Regions from separate parts of the Homo sapiens genome. Here region 1 is linked to region 2. Evidence: promoter capture Hi-C in 16 types of primary human blood cells and fetal thymus (Javierre and others, 2016). All regions are on one chromosome and are shown on one strand. The core of a region is centred on a gene start or on the middle of the fragment in contact, and the rest is flanking DNA. Distances in the headings are between cores, read along the strand shown.

Evidence for each region. The method cuts DNA at HindIII sites, captures the fragments that hold promoters and counts their contacts. A CHiCAGO score of 5 or more calls a contact.
Region 1: a fragment that was not itself captured here is called in contact with the fragment with the promoter of TENT4B in region 2 in 13 of 17 cell types (total CD8 T cells, naive CD4 T cells, activated CD4 T cells and 10 more); the score reaches 16.7 in total CD8 T cells.

The regions. Positions count from the first base shown.
Region 1 is chr16:50,668,730-50,675,598 of GRCh38, reverse strand. It overlaps LOC101927272 (a long non-coding RNA gene), which reads right to left and starts at 6,744. Exons shown (of 3, transcript NR_110908.1): 1 at 6,439-6,744; 2 at 4,606-4,916; 3 at 3,960-4,451. SNX20 (sorting nexin 20) reads left to right here. Exons shown (of 4, transcript NM_182854.4): 4 at 1,525-3,970. The coding sequence ends at 2,193. The HindIII fragment of the contact is 1,314 bases long and covers 4,963-6,276 here.
Region 2 is chr16:50,148,633-50,155,224 of GRCh38, reverse strand. It overlaps TENT4B (terminal nucleotidyltransferase 4B), which reads right to left and starts at 1,919. Exons shown (of 12, transcript NM_001365324.3): 1 at 966-1,919. The coding sequence starts at 1,603. It also overlaps the pseudogene RPL10P14 and the pseudogene LOC124900375. RefSeq lists enhancers at 219-268, 1,906-2,863 and silencers at 1,080-1,249, 1,370-1,419, 1,600-1,699, 1,930-2,089, 2,200-2,369 and 1 more. The HindIII fragment of the contact is 13,709 bases long and covers 1-6,592 here.

The sequences.
Region 1 (6,869 bases), core at 4,370-6,869, 520 kb before region 2:
CTAGGGTCTGTGAGGATTCGAACCATATAAGTCATATTTCTTGGTCCCAAGAAGGAAATAGCCCAGTTTAATCCCATCTTATCAGGTGTCAGTCACCTGTGTCCTTTCTTCACCAATTTTGCCATATCACTGTATCTGTTCTAATTATTATTACTTATTTTTTTCTTTAAATTGGATCACTTTTTAAAAACATGAAGCACATTTATTTCAAAGAGAAATACCTTAAATGGAAAACCAATATCACATGGCACAAAGCAAAAGTAACATACTAGAAAAGTCGATACAAGGAAAGTCAATACAAGGAAAGCTATGTGCTGTTATTAAATTCTAGCTGGTTACTGTGGCTTCGGGAAAGCCCTGTGCCTGGGAGCTGCTCCTCTCCCTGTTAGAATGGAATTTTAGCTTGTGTTAAGGGATGTTAAAGACTGCCTAAGAGCCACACTTCATCCTTCTCCTTCACTTACCTGGGACCGGGATAAATAACATAGCTACCACTGAATGCCAATGGCATGCCGGGCACAGCTCCATGTGGTTTCAGTGCATTAACTCATTTAATCCTCACTGGGTGAGGTAGGCACTATGCCTATCCTTGTTTTATGAATGAGAAAAGTGAGACTCGGAGAGGTTAAATTACTCATCTAAAACCACACAGCTAGACCATGGTAGGGCTATAATTACAACCCATGCAATCTGGCTCTGGAGTCAGATGCATGGGTTATAATTGCCCTTAATATATAATTGCCCGTAATCAGGATTCTCTTGAAAGATGATTGAAAAGGATTGATTTTCTTACCATATAACGGCATCACCAGTGTACCTAAATGATGTTATATTGTACGTAAAACTAATTCCCAAGTGTGAAACATTTGGAAAACACAGCATCTCAGTTCAGAAAACAGAGGCCCAGTTTTAGCAAGTAAAGCCAAGAGGGACCCCAGCAGCCTGCAGGGCAGGACCCTCTGCCCTTTCTCCTCCCAGATGTCCCCACCTTGCTGTGTTGTTGTTCCAGGGTTGACTCAGCTGATGCCAATAGCAATTTAAAACAGAATTGGGCCAGGTGCAGTGGCTCATGCCTGTAATCCCAGCACTTTGGGAGGCCCAGGTAGGAGGATCGCTTGAGCCCAGGAGTTGGAGACCAGCCTGGGCAACACAGCCAGACCCCATCTTTTAAAAAAAATCAAAAAATCTGCCAGGTAGTGGGTGTGCCTGTAGTCCCAGCTACTCAGGAGGCTCAGGTGGGCAGGTCAATTGAGCCCATAAGTTCAAGGTTGCAGTGAGGTATGATCGCATCACTGTACTCCAGCCTGGGTAACAGTGCGAGACCCTGTCTCTAAAAATAAATAAATAAATAAATAAATAAATAAATAAACAAACAAACAAACAAACAAACAAACAATTGCATATAAGGATCGCCCGTTTTCAGGGCATGCTTTACACCGGCCTGGTTAACTTTACTCTGGGTGTGCTCCGTCCGCCGCAGCCCCCGCCGGGAGGTGGCCACAGCTCTCTCTGGTTGCGCCCTAGGTGTACCAAATCATCGTCATCCAGACTGGGAGCTTTGACAACAACAAGGCCGTCCTGGAACGGCGCTATTCCGACTTCGCGAAGCTCCAGAAAGCGCTGCTGAAGACGTTCAGGGAGGAGATCGAAGACGTGGAGTTTCCCAGGAAGCACCTGACTGGGAACTTCGCTGAGGAGATGATCTGTGAGCGTCGGCGCGCCCTGCAGGAGTACCTGGGCCTGCTCTACGCCATCCGCTGCGTGCGCCGCTCCCGGGAGTTCCTGGACTTCCTCACGCGGCCGGAGCTGCGCGAGGCTTTCGGCTGCCTGCGGGCCGGCCAGTACCCGCGCGCCCTGGAGCTGCTGCTGCGCGTGCTGCCGCTGCAGGAGAAGCTCACCGCCCACTGCCCTGCGGCCGCCGTCCCGGCCCTGTGCGCCGTGCTGCTGTGCCACCGCGACCTCGACCGCCCCGCCGAGGCCTTCGCGGCCGGAGAGAGGGCCCTGCAGCGCCTGCAGGCCCGGGAGGGCCATCGCTACTATGCGCCTCTGCTGGACGCCATGGTCCGCCTGGCCTACGCGCTGGGCAAGGACTTCGTGACTCTGCAGGAGAGGCTGGAGGAGAGCCAGCTCCGGAGGCCCACGCCCCGAGGCATCACCCTGAAGGAGCTCACTGTGCGAGAATACCTGCACTGAGCCGGCCTGGGACCCCGCAGGGACGCTGGAGATTTGGGGTCACCATGGCTCACAGTGGGCTGTTTGGGGTTCTTTTTTTTTATTTTTCCTTTTCTTTTTTGTTATTTGAGACAGTCTTGCTCTGTCACCCAGACTGAAGTGCAGTGGCTCAATTATGTCTCACTGCAGCCTCAAACTCCTGGGCACAAGCAATCCTCCCACCTCAGCCTCCCAAGTAGCTGGGATTACAGGTGCACACCACCACACCAGGCTAATTTTTAATTTTTTAGTAGAGACAGGGTCTCTCTGTTGCCCAGGCTGGTCTCTAACTTCTGACCTTAAATGATCTTCCTGCCTCAGCTTCCCAAAACACTGGGGTTACAAGTGTGAGCCACCACCCCTGGCCTGGGGTTCATTTTTAATGGGAAAAGCCACTGGGGGCTCTAACTCGCTGGGTGACTTTGGACAAGCCCCTCCTCTGGTCCTCAATTTCTCCATCTGTATTGGACAGAGGTGCTCCTGGGACCCCTTGGAAGCCTCTGCTTGTGTCCCACGTCCTCTTGATGCCAGGGCCACTTCATCTCCAAAACACAAAACCAACTGCCAAAACCGTCCAGAGCAGTGTCCACCCCACCAGTGTCTTTGTGGGAAGCTGGAGAAGAAGTTTACCTCACACATTCTAGACAAAACTTAGTCCATTTCCTTGAAGACAGTTCTCTCCAGCTGCTCCAAGGCTTTTCTCTCTGTTCCTTCCACCTTGGAATTGCTTTAAAATATTTCCATCCATTATCCTAATACTATCTTAGTATTCTAGCCCTTCCCCCTTACCATGTAGACCTGACAAAGCAAAACAAAAGCTCACCTATTGCCCTCAAGAACAGCCTCTACACACACACACACACACACACACACACACACACACACACACACGGTGGGAGTTGTATGCCATCCTTTTGAAGGGTGGGAGGACCCTGGACCAGAAAGCAATAATGGCATAAGATTCTGTGATACCAGGCATTTTTGGCAAGGGAAGTTGCCAACAATTTTTCTGGCTGGGATGGCATAGCACATTGTCTAGGGGTGGATTTTCATTCATAAGGCAGCTGTTCCCTGAATGGCTTCCCTGGGTTATGTAGAAACAGCCTGGGGAGGAGGTGATACAACATACTTAATGGGGCCTCTGGGCAGAAAACAGACTGAATCCTCAACACTGCCCCTTTTGAGGGTCTGTGATCCTGGAACTTCTCTGATGGACTGGGATGCCCTTAACTGAGGTCTGCTGTCTGGAAAGGACACCACAGGCCCAGAATGAAGGGGCATCTGGACCAATGACCTAGATTCAACACAGGGCTTGGAGCTGGTGGTACAGGCTGGTTTTGGCCCAATGTGTGTTGGAGGCTGGAAGCCCCTGAAGACCTAAACTGCCTGGATGAGCTTATTAGGGTGAATTAATGAGTCTGTAATTTGGGAACCTTAATGTGAGACACCACTTAAGGAGAGGAACTTGGCCCAGCAAGTGATCACTCTAGAAGTGGACAGCTATGCACTAGACTGCACCAGAATCTGTTCAACAGCGACACCTTGTGGTAAAAACTGTAGACGCCCCATCAGGCTGGATGGGAAACTAGAAACAGACTGTCTCATCTTTGGACAGATATCCCTCAAATCTCCCAATCTACTCCAGGGAAAAGACACTTCAAGTGAGAGATATTGGACTTCTTGAAAATCTAGGCCTATGGAAAATTAAAGTGTTAAATGGAAAAATTAAAGAGCTATGAGTCTATTTGTAATGATGAAACAGATGATATTGATTTTGTCAGTTATTTCTTCAAATCTAAAATGCTATCAACAATATGCAACAAATGTTTACTAACAAAGAAAAAATACCCAACATGGACAGTTTAATGGGATATTCCAGCACAAAAGCTGGAAAAGCAAAGAGTTAGACCCCCGATATGAGGGTTAACACCAAATAAGCCTGTTGTACAGGAGGGGACATTAAGGAAATTTGCACAAACTAAACTTGGCACTGGGTGGAGTACAGGGAACTTCCTCTGAGAATTTGAACTGCAAGCGGGCACTCGCCCATGTTTTAGGGCTGAATACACACAGCATGGTCCAAAATCCCTCAAGCAGAGAAATCATGTTAAAGTGGTCTCAGGTGGAGGTGTTCCAGGTGCCTCAAGACCTGGAGATCTTTAGGTCTTCCCTGGGGCTGAAGGATGTCAGCATCAAGCCAGGCCTATAAGAAGTGTAGGATCCTGTTGAGTTCAGAGGTGCTGAAATGTGAAAAAAAAAAGTCATCTCAAAATCACAGATAGATGATATGTGTGGGGTGTTGGGGGGGTGGGGCGGGGGGTGCACACAGAGAGAAAATACTTATATGGGAGTAAAGGAGCCTATAGAATCACATGGGGGGTTCCCCATAAGTACCTCTGAAGAGGGGTTGGCTTCCCACACAGTGCACAGGAAATGGATTTATTCAGGCTTCCCAAAAAGGGACTGGCCACATGGGGCAGCTTCAGGACCATCACTTTGCCTTTTCCCGATGACACTCAATGCTGCCCCTCCTCGTGCTTCTGGCAGCCTTGGCCTGAGCATCCACGGGAGTTTCTTCTGGCCATGGACACTGCATCTTCATCCACTACAAGTTGTCTGATGGACTGGGATGGCCTGCCACAGCCAGCTCCTCCTGGCATCTCCCATATGCTGCAGCAGTTAGAGCCCACTCGTTCCTTGGGTTCCTGGAACAAGTCCTTGAATTCCTTAGGCCCCCACCTCCAGCAAGCTTTCCGCAGGGCCCACTGCAGCCCCACCGGGGTACCCCACCTCCCTGTTTGCCTGGGCCCTCTCCCACGCCACCTGTATTAGTCCTTGTTTCTAGGGGACTTTAGAGTGGTGGCAGCTGGGACTGAACATTCTTCTCCTGACCCCTCAAAAGCTGGGTCCACAGGAGAGGTGAGGGGGTACCTGACCTCCATACCCAGGATGGAGCCTTGTTAGGAACACAGAATTTCAGGCCCCACCCTAGACCTGCTTAATCGGAGTCTGCACTTTAACAAGAGCATCCCCCACTGCCGCAGGTGACTCTTACCTGCATACCTCAAAGGTTGAGAAGCCCAGTGTTGAACTGACTTGAAGGCACCTCAATGAAAATCATCCATGGAACTGGGCCATCTGTGGTCCTGGGTTCATCCCCATCCTTCTCTTCTCTCCACCCGGGCCCTCTACCATACAGGTGCCTCATCCCAGGGGACTGCAGATGGGACTACCATGCCAGCCTCACAACCATACCTGCAAAACCACTCTGGGCATTTGGACTGGAGCTTAAAGGGGTTCATTCCAATGAAGCCCTCCCTGCTGCAGCAGCCACTCCCCCCCACTGGCTGTGATGGAGTCCTGGGGTCTCCACTTTGAGCTGGGATTAGGCATCCTCATGAGACCCTGTCCCCTGGGATGCCGGCAGTTCCCTGCCAAGCCCACAATTGAAAACAAGCTCTGCAAGCAGCTCCCTGTGCGGTAAAAGTCAGGGCTCCCCAGGCCTACTGTGTGACCAGGCACTGCCGGGCCATTGATAGCACCGTCACTCCAGCTCTGCTTGGGACATGTTCCTATCCCATTTTTCAGTTGAGGAAAATGTGATCATTTGTAACATTGTAACCTGAGGGGGTTAAGTGACTTGCCCAGGGTTACACAGCTAATAACTGGACCAGGAAATTAAGACCAGGCTTTAATTTGACCCAAGCCCTACTTTCCTTGCTGAACTCCACATTAAAGGATGTGGAGGAGAGGGGAAGGGATATGTTCCTGGTCCCCTCACCGAAATGGGTCCTTGATATGGTTTGGATGCATGGTGGTCACCTCCAAATCTCATGCTGAATGTGACTCCCAGTGTTGAAGGTGTGGCCTGGTGGGAGATGTTTGGCTCATGGGGGCAGGTCCCTCATGGATGGCTTGGTGCCCTCCCCGTGGTAATGAATGAGTTCTCACTCTGTTAGTTTACATGAGAGCTGGTTGTTTAGAAGAGCCTGACATGGCTCTTGCTCCCTCTCTTGCCATGTAAGTCACGAACTCCCCCTTCCCCTTCCACCATAAGTGGAAGCTTCCTGAAGCTTCACAAGAAGCAATGCTGGTGCCATGCTTCTGTACAACCTGCACAACTGTGAGCCAAATAACCCTCTTTTCTTTATAAGCTACCCAACCTCAGGTATTCCTTTATAGCAATGCAAAATGGACTGACACGCCTTTAAAGATCATTTCACTCACCTCTGTTTACAGATGGGGAAATCAAGGCCTGGAGAGATGACTTATCCAGGGTCACGTGGCGAGACAGGGACAGCACCAGAACCAGACCCGAGATGTCCACGTCAAAGTGACATGCTCTGAGAGGCAGCACACACAGAATAACCCTGCATCCAAATTCCAGGAAGCTCTTAGGGGTCATCCAGCTGGGCCTAGGGGTGCAGGGTCAGTGCTGAGGCCTGGGCAGGGCCGCTAGCCTCCCTGAGCTTTCTGGCTTCAGGCTGGGAGGCACAGTTCAGGGTGGACTGTGACCCCTTGGCCTAGAATGCCCTTAGCTCTGCTCTCTAGTGGCTGTCCCCATAGCTGGAACTCTGTTTTGGAGTGGCAAAACCAGTTCCACCTGCTGGTAGGGGTAGGTTGGCTCCCAACACATCCCCAGCAGGCCTCTCTTGGGC
Region 2 (6,592 bases), core at 670-3,169:
CCTATTCCAGCACAGGGACTCTTCTGAAGGGAGATCTAGTTGGAAACATTCCCTGCTTATGTACATAATTCACTAGGGGTCAGGTAAGATTCCATTTTCTAAGAGCTGAACTTTAAACAGAAAGTCACTAGTGGTGCAATATTCACTCATTAGCATAAATCTCTACCCCCTAGAATGAAAAGCATTGGCTGCCTCTGCCAGGATGACAACTTTACAGTGAGAAGCTGGAGCCGCGGACCATGAACTCCTGGAAAGTTCTATCAGGGCCTCAGAAGGGCTCACCACCTTCACCAGCCTAAACTTAGTGGTCACCCATCCCACGCCACCCTCTGCATAGACAGGGCATCTGTGACATGGGAATTTTTTAAAAATAAAAAGATGGGCCAAAGGGTCAAGAGCAGGCAATGCCTTACAGGGCTGACATAATTGCTGTCTGGGATTGGGGGATGGGGAGGAGCATTCTGGATGTTTCTATTCTTGGCAAGGAAAGCACCTCCGGGTCCTGCACCATCAAAAAACACTCACACACCAATGTTCTCAGGGAATGAATGATAGGCCCGTGCTAAGCGGTCTCATCTTGAGTTGTGATGATGGGGAAAAAGGTGTGGAGGGCTGGAGGCGGGGTGGTGGTCAAGGGTAGATGTGTTTAACTAAGGGGGATGGGAGGAGAGTGAATGGATAAAGGGGGGGGCCTGGGGAAGGTGTGGACGGTTAAGAGGGAGGGGAGGAAGGTGTGGACGACTAAGGGAGGACAGGAGACGGAGGGTGTGGACGGCTAAGGAGGCTTGGGGAAAGGTGTGAACGACTGGGGGGTTGGGGATGGCCAGCAGCACCCCCGTGCAACAGCAGCGAAGGCAGGCCGTGGGGGTGGCCGCTCCTAGACCCTCACAACCCCCCTCTGTGGGCGTGTGCCCGGCTGCGCATTCGCACCGGCCAGGCCATCGGGCCGCAGAGCCAGCACTCACCCCACGACTCCCTGGTTGTAGTTCCTCCGTTTCCACGGGGTCCCGCTGTACACGACCCCGCCGCCGTCTGCTCGGCCGCCCCCCGCGGCCCGCCCTCCGCTGGGCTGCAGCAGGCTGTAGTTGAGTCCATACGTGCTGGCCTTGTTGTCGCGCTTCCTCTTGTTGCTGCTGCCCGAGGCCGAATCGGCTGGATCGGCGGCGGGGACGGCGGCCGAAGGGTGCGGGGACGAGGACGCCGAGGGAGGCGAGGACGCCGAGGAGCCCGCCCGGCGGGCCCAGGCCCCGGGCTGGTGGTGGTTGTTGTTGTTGTTGGTCGTCTCTAGGGGCAGGAAGTCCCGCTGCTCCGCGGGCAGCGCGTGGCTGCCCAGCAGGCGCTCCCCGGAGCGATACATGCCGGCCGGGGCCGGGGCCGGGGCCGAGGCCGCGCCGCCGGGGCTGCCGGTGCTGCTGCCGCTCCCGCCGGTGGCCGTGCTGCTGCTGCTGCTGCTGCCGCCGCCGCCGCTCGCGCCGCCGCTGCTGTGACAGTGGTGGTTGAAGTAGAGGTTCCTCAGCCCCTGGGTCGTCTCCCAGATCTGCATCCACAGACTGTTGGACGGTCCGAGCTGCTCTGGCTGAAACCAGGCGATCCTCGGATCCATCAAACGGCGGCGGCCGCTGCCCCCGCCCCTCCCGGCCGCCCGCAGGGCCGCCGCCGCCGCCGCCTCAGGCGCACGCCCGGCCTCGGCTGCTGCTGCTGCTGCCGCTGCTGCCGCTGCTGCTGCTGCTGCTGCTCGGGGCCCGCCGCGGGCGGCGCGGTCGCGCAGGGAGCCCGGCCGGCGCCGGCGGCGTCGCTCCCGCCCTCGGGGGCTCCGCGGGCCCTCCCCCCCTCCCTCCGCCCCTCCGCCCCTCCGCCGAGCCCCTGTCACTGGGGTCCCCGTGCAAATGGCGGCGGCGGCGGCGGCGGCTCCACAGAAGAGCGAGCGGCGGCGGCGGCAGCGGCGGCAGCGAGACGCGCCTGCTCCGTAGCGTCCTCGCTCCTCCGGCCCCGGGGCGGGGCCTCTGCCGGCTCCGCCCCTCTCGCTCCGCCCCCCCCCCCCACCGCCCCGCCCTCACGCGCTCGCCCCGCCCCCGCTGCGCCGCGCAGCAGCCCGGGAGGCCTCGCCGTGCGTCACAGAGGCCGCGGCGCGACGGGGCCGCAACCGCCTGGCCCAACCGTACTTGCGCCATCTGTGGAGTGCTCCCACGTACCTGGGCGTCCGGGAGCTTCTGAGGCGCGCGCGGCTTCTCCGCCTCGGCTTCCCCGGTGCTGAGCGTGGACGAGGCCGCATGGAGGTTGCCGCCCGCCCCGCAGGGAGCGCGTTGTGGGAGGTGCCACTCCGCCCCTCGCTCCTCGCCCCTCCCATCCCTGTGGCCGCCGGATCCCGGGCCCTCGCAACCCTTCCTGACGTCTTGGCTTCTGCCTGCTTTCTAAAACACTTTCTTTTTAAAAAAAAAAAAAAAAAAAAAAACAGCCTATAACACTTTTTCTGGTGGCGTGGGGACACGCCCCCTGCCCGAGCGTGTGCCCCGGGGTCCTGACGCGGGCTGCGCGAGACCCTGCACGGCTACGTGTGCCCCGCCCTGCTGCGCCCTGGCCGGGGTGGGGGACCCCTCACCCCGGCCTGAGGCCACAGAAACCTGTACCCCATGCATAGCCCTGGGGGAGACCACTAAGACTGAGAGTGTGAGCCAAGGGCGGAAAGCCGCAGCCGCACACTCAACCCACTTTACAGGGACACGCAAACACGTGTAGATGCACAGAGAAGCAGACACACTCCTGCGCGGCGTAGCAAAGACGCTCTCCTGCCCTAAGGTGCACCAACAGCCTTAGAAAGCTCTTCTGAGTTCAGCATTAAATTTTAAGAAAACCCAAAACCTTTTAATCCTAAAATGAAGATTTAGCATCAGCAAAGATTGTCCACTAGGTCGTTATTTGCATGTCTTTCAAATCTCAGTGGTTAAAAAGCCAAGGAAAGGGGAATGTTAAGTATTTTAAATCAAGAGACTAAAAGAAAGTAAGTGAACAGCTTCTATGTGGGCCCTTTAAGGTTGGTCCAACGTCCAGAACAAGTCCCTGATGCCTGATATTGGCCTTCCATTTTGGGAGCTCAATATCCTGGAAAGTTTTTATGACAAATAGTGGAAAACTATCAAAGAACTAAGTGTCGCTCTACCTTTTTCTTTCTTTCGAGACTAACTCTTGCTCTGTCATCTGGAGTTCAGTGACTCATTCACAGCTCACTGCAGGCTCGGCCTCTTGGGTTCAAGCGATCCTCTTGCCCCAGCCTCCGAGTAGCTAGGACTATAGGCACGCGTCAACATGGCATAGAGACGAAGTTGCTCTGCGCTGCCCAGGCTGGTCTGGAACTCCTGGACTTAAGCGATCCTCCTACCTCAGACTCCAAAACTGCTGGGATTACAAGGGGGTGAGCCACCACGCCTGACCTTACTTTTTTTTTTTTTTTTGGTAAGAGAATAAATAGCACGACCAGAAATACGGAAAACACACAAAGACCCTTCAGCTGCAAACAACAGCTTCCTTGGTAGTTTATGCAGCCTGTTTCTTGTATGGGCTGCTCTAAGGGACCATGGAGACAGGCCTTTCAGATGTATGTTCATGTCTTTGACCTTGCACTACGCCAATGTAGGCTCCAGGCAGATATTCGAGGTGCCTTTGAAAAGCTCCAGGGCACTGTGGCCAGGGTTCACATTGGCCAAGTTATCATGTCCATCTGCAACAAGCTGCAGAATAAGGAGCATGTGATTGAATCCCTGCTCAGGGCCAAGTTCAAGTTCCCTGGCTGCCAGAAGATCCACATTTCAAAGAAGTGGGGCTTCACCAAGTTCACTGCGGATGAATTTGAAGACATGGTGGCTGAAAAGCGGCTCATCGCAGATGACTGTGGGGTCAAGTACATCCCCATCATGGCCCTCTGGACAAGTGGCGTGCCCTGCCCTCGTGAGGGCTTCCACTGTGCTGCCCCCTCTTAATACTCCCCAGTAAATCCTACTTCCTGTCCACCAAAAACAAACAAAAAAAACCCTTCGGAATTTTGATTCATTCAATTTGATTGTTGCTGTTGCTTTACTAGAAATCAGTATTAAAAGTTTTCTCTGTCCGGGGGCGGTTGCTCACACTTGTAATCCCAGCGTTTTGGGAAGTCAAGGCAGGCAGATCACCTGAGGTCGGGAGTTCGAGACCAGCCTGACCAACACGGAAAAACCCCATCTCTACTAAAAATACAAAATTAGCCGGGTGTGGTGGCGCATGCCTGTAATCCCAGCTACTTAGGAGGTTGAGGCAGGAGAATCACATGAACCCAGGAGGTGGAGGTTGTGGTGAGCCGAGATCTCGCCATTGCACTCCAGCCTGGGTGACAGAGCGAGACTCCATCTCAAAAAAAAAAAAAAAAAAAAGTTTTCCCTGAATGAAATTTGCTATGTACTAATTATTACATAGCCAGGAAAATAAGTAGCCGTATTTTTTGTGTTATTTACACTGACAAAAATAAAACATTGTATAGAAATAGATTTTGTTTGCTGACCTCATATTTGTTTTAAAAATTGAATCTCTGGCCGGGCGTGGTGACTCACACCTGTAATCCCAACATTTTGGGAGGCTGACGCGGGCAGATCATGAGCTCAGGAGTTCCCGAGACCAGCCTGGCCAATGTGGTGAAACCCCGTCTCTACTAAAAATACAAAAAATTAGCCGGGTGTGGTGGCACATGCCTGTAATCCCAGCTACTTGGAAGGCTGAGGCAGGAGAATCATTTGAACCTTGGAGGCAGAGGTTTTGGTGCGCCGAGATCGCGTCATTGCACTCCAGCCTAGGTGACACAGTGAGACTCTGTCTCAAAAAAAAAAAATTATATATATATATATCTATCTCTCTCTCTCTCTCAGCAGGATGCAGTGGCTCATGCCTGTAATCCCAGCACTTTGGAAGACTGAGGTGAGAGGATTACTTGAAGCCAGGAGTTTGAGAACAGCCTAGGCAACATGGTGAGACCTCTGTCTCTACAAAAAATTTAAAAATGAGCTGGGCCTTTTCCTTTAACGTAGGATCAAGGTAATAAAAAAGAAAAAAATATTCAACATGAAATTTGGAGGAGACAGATATCCAAACTATTATCAGATGCTAATTCATCAGTTACACCATAGTAATATCCTAAGTATGTTAAGTAAAAGGCTTTCTTCAGCAAAGTATCAGAGATACATTTGATTTACATACTTTTGTAAACTCTGTCTTCTCAGGATGCTGGGTACTTAAGATCCATGCTTTCAGGCCAAGTGTGGTGGCTCACGCCTGTAATCCCAGCAATTCGGGAGGCTGAGGCAGGCAGATCGCTTGAGGTCAGTAGTTTGAGACCAGCCTGGCCAACATGGTGAAACTCCATCTCTACTTAAAAAAAGAAATTAGCCGGGCATGGTGGCCCACATCTCTAAGGCCAGTTACTCAGGAGGCTGAGGTGGGAGAATCACTTGAACTTGGGAGGCAGAGGTTACAGTGAGCCGAGATCGTGCCACTGCACTCCAGCCTGGGCGACAGAGCTAGACTCCGTCTCAATAAATAAATAAATAAATAAATAAAATTAGCTGTGCTTGGTGGCGAGTGCCTGTGGTCCCAACTACTCGGGAGGCTGAGGTGGGAGTATGGCTTGAGCACAGGAGGTCGAGGCTACAGTGAGCCATGTTTGTGACACTGCACTCCAGCCTGAGTGAGATCCTGTCTTAAAAATAAAAATAAAAATGACCAGGCGCAGTGGCTCATGCCTGTAATCCCAGTACTTTGGGAGGCTGAGGCAGGAAGATCACTTGAGCCCAGAAGTTCAAGACCAGCCTGGGCAACACAGCGAGATTTTTGTCTCAAAAGAGAAGAAAAGGAAATAAAACTAAAAAATTTAAATATATTTTCTTAAACCCTGCTTGAAAAAAAAAAATTCAGGAGAGGCATGGTGGATTACACCTATAATCCCAGTGCTTTGGGAGGTTTAGGCCGGAAGGTGGCTTGAGGCTTGGAGTTTGAGACCAGTCTGGGCAATATAGCAAGACCCTGCCTGTAAAAATAATAATAATAATAGTAATAATAATAAAATTTTTAAATTCAATCTCAAGACATAAGGTCAGGAAAACATTTTTCTTTTTAATTCAAATAAGAACAATGGAAAGCCCAAAACACTAAACATTATTGGCTGGGCGCGGTGGCTCACACCTGTAATCCCAGCACTTTGGGAGGCTGAGGTAGGAGGATCACTTGAGGTCAGGAGTTTGAGACCAGCCTGACCAACATGGTGAAACCCCATCTCTACTAAAAATACAAAAAATGTAGCCGGGGTGGTGGCGCACACAAGTAGTCCCAGCTACTCTGGAGGCTGAGGTGGAAGGATCACTTGAACCCGGGAGGCAGAGGTTGCAGTCAGCTGAGATTGCACCACTATACTCCAGCCTGGGTGACACAGCGAGACTCCATCAAAAAAAAAAAAAAACAGATGTTATCAAGGTCCCACCAACAGAAATGCCCACTGTGAAAATTGTTAAACATTCATCCAAAAATCTCTCCATGCATATGTACATGTTGAAATACAGGTATATATTCCAGTCTCTTA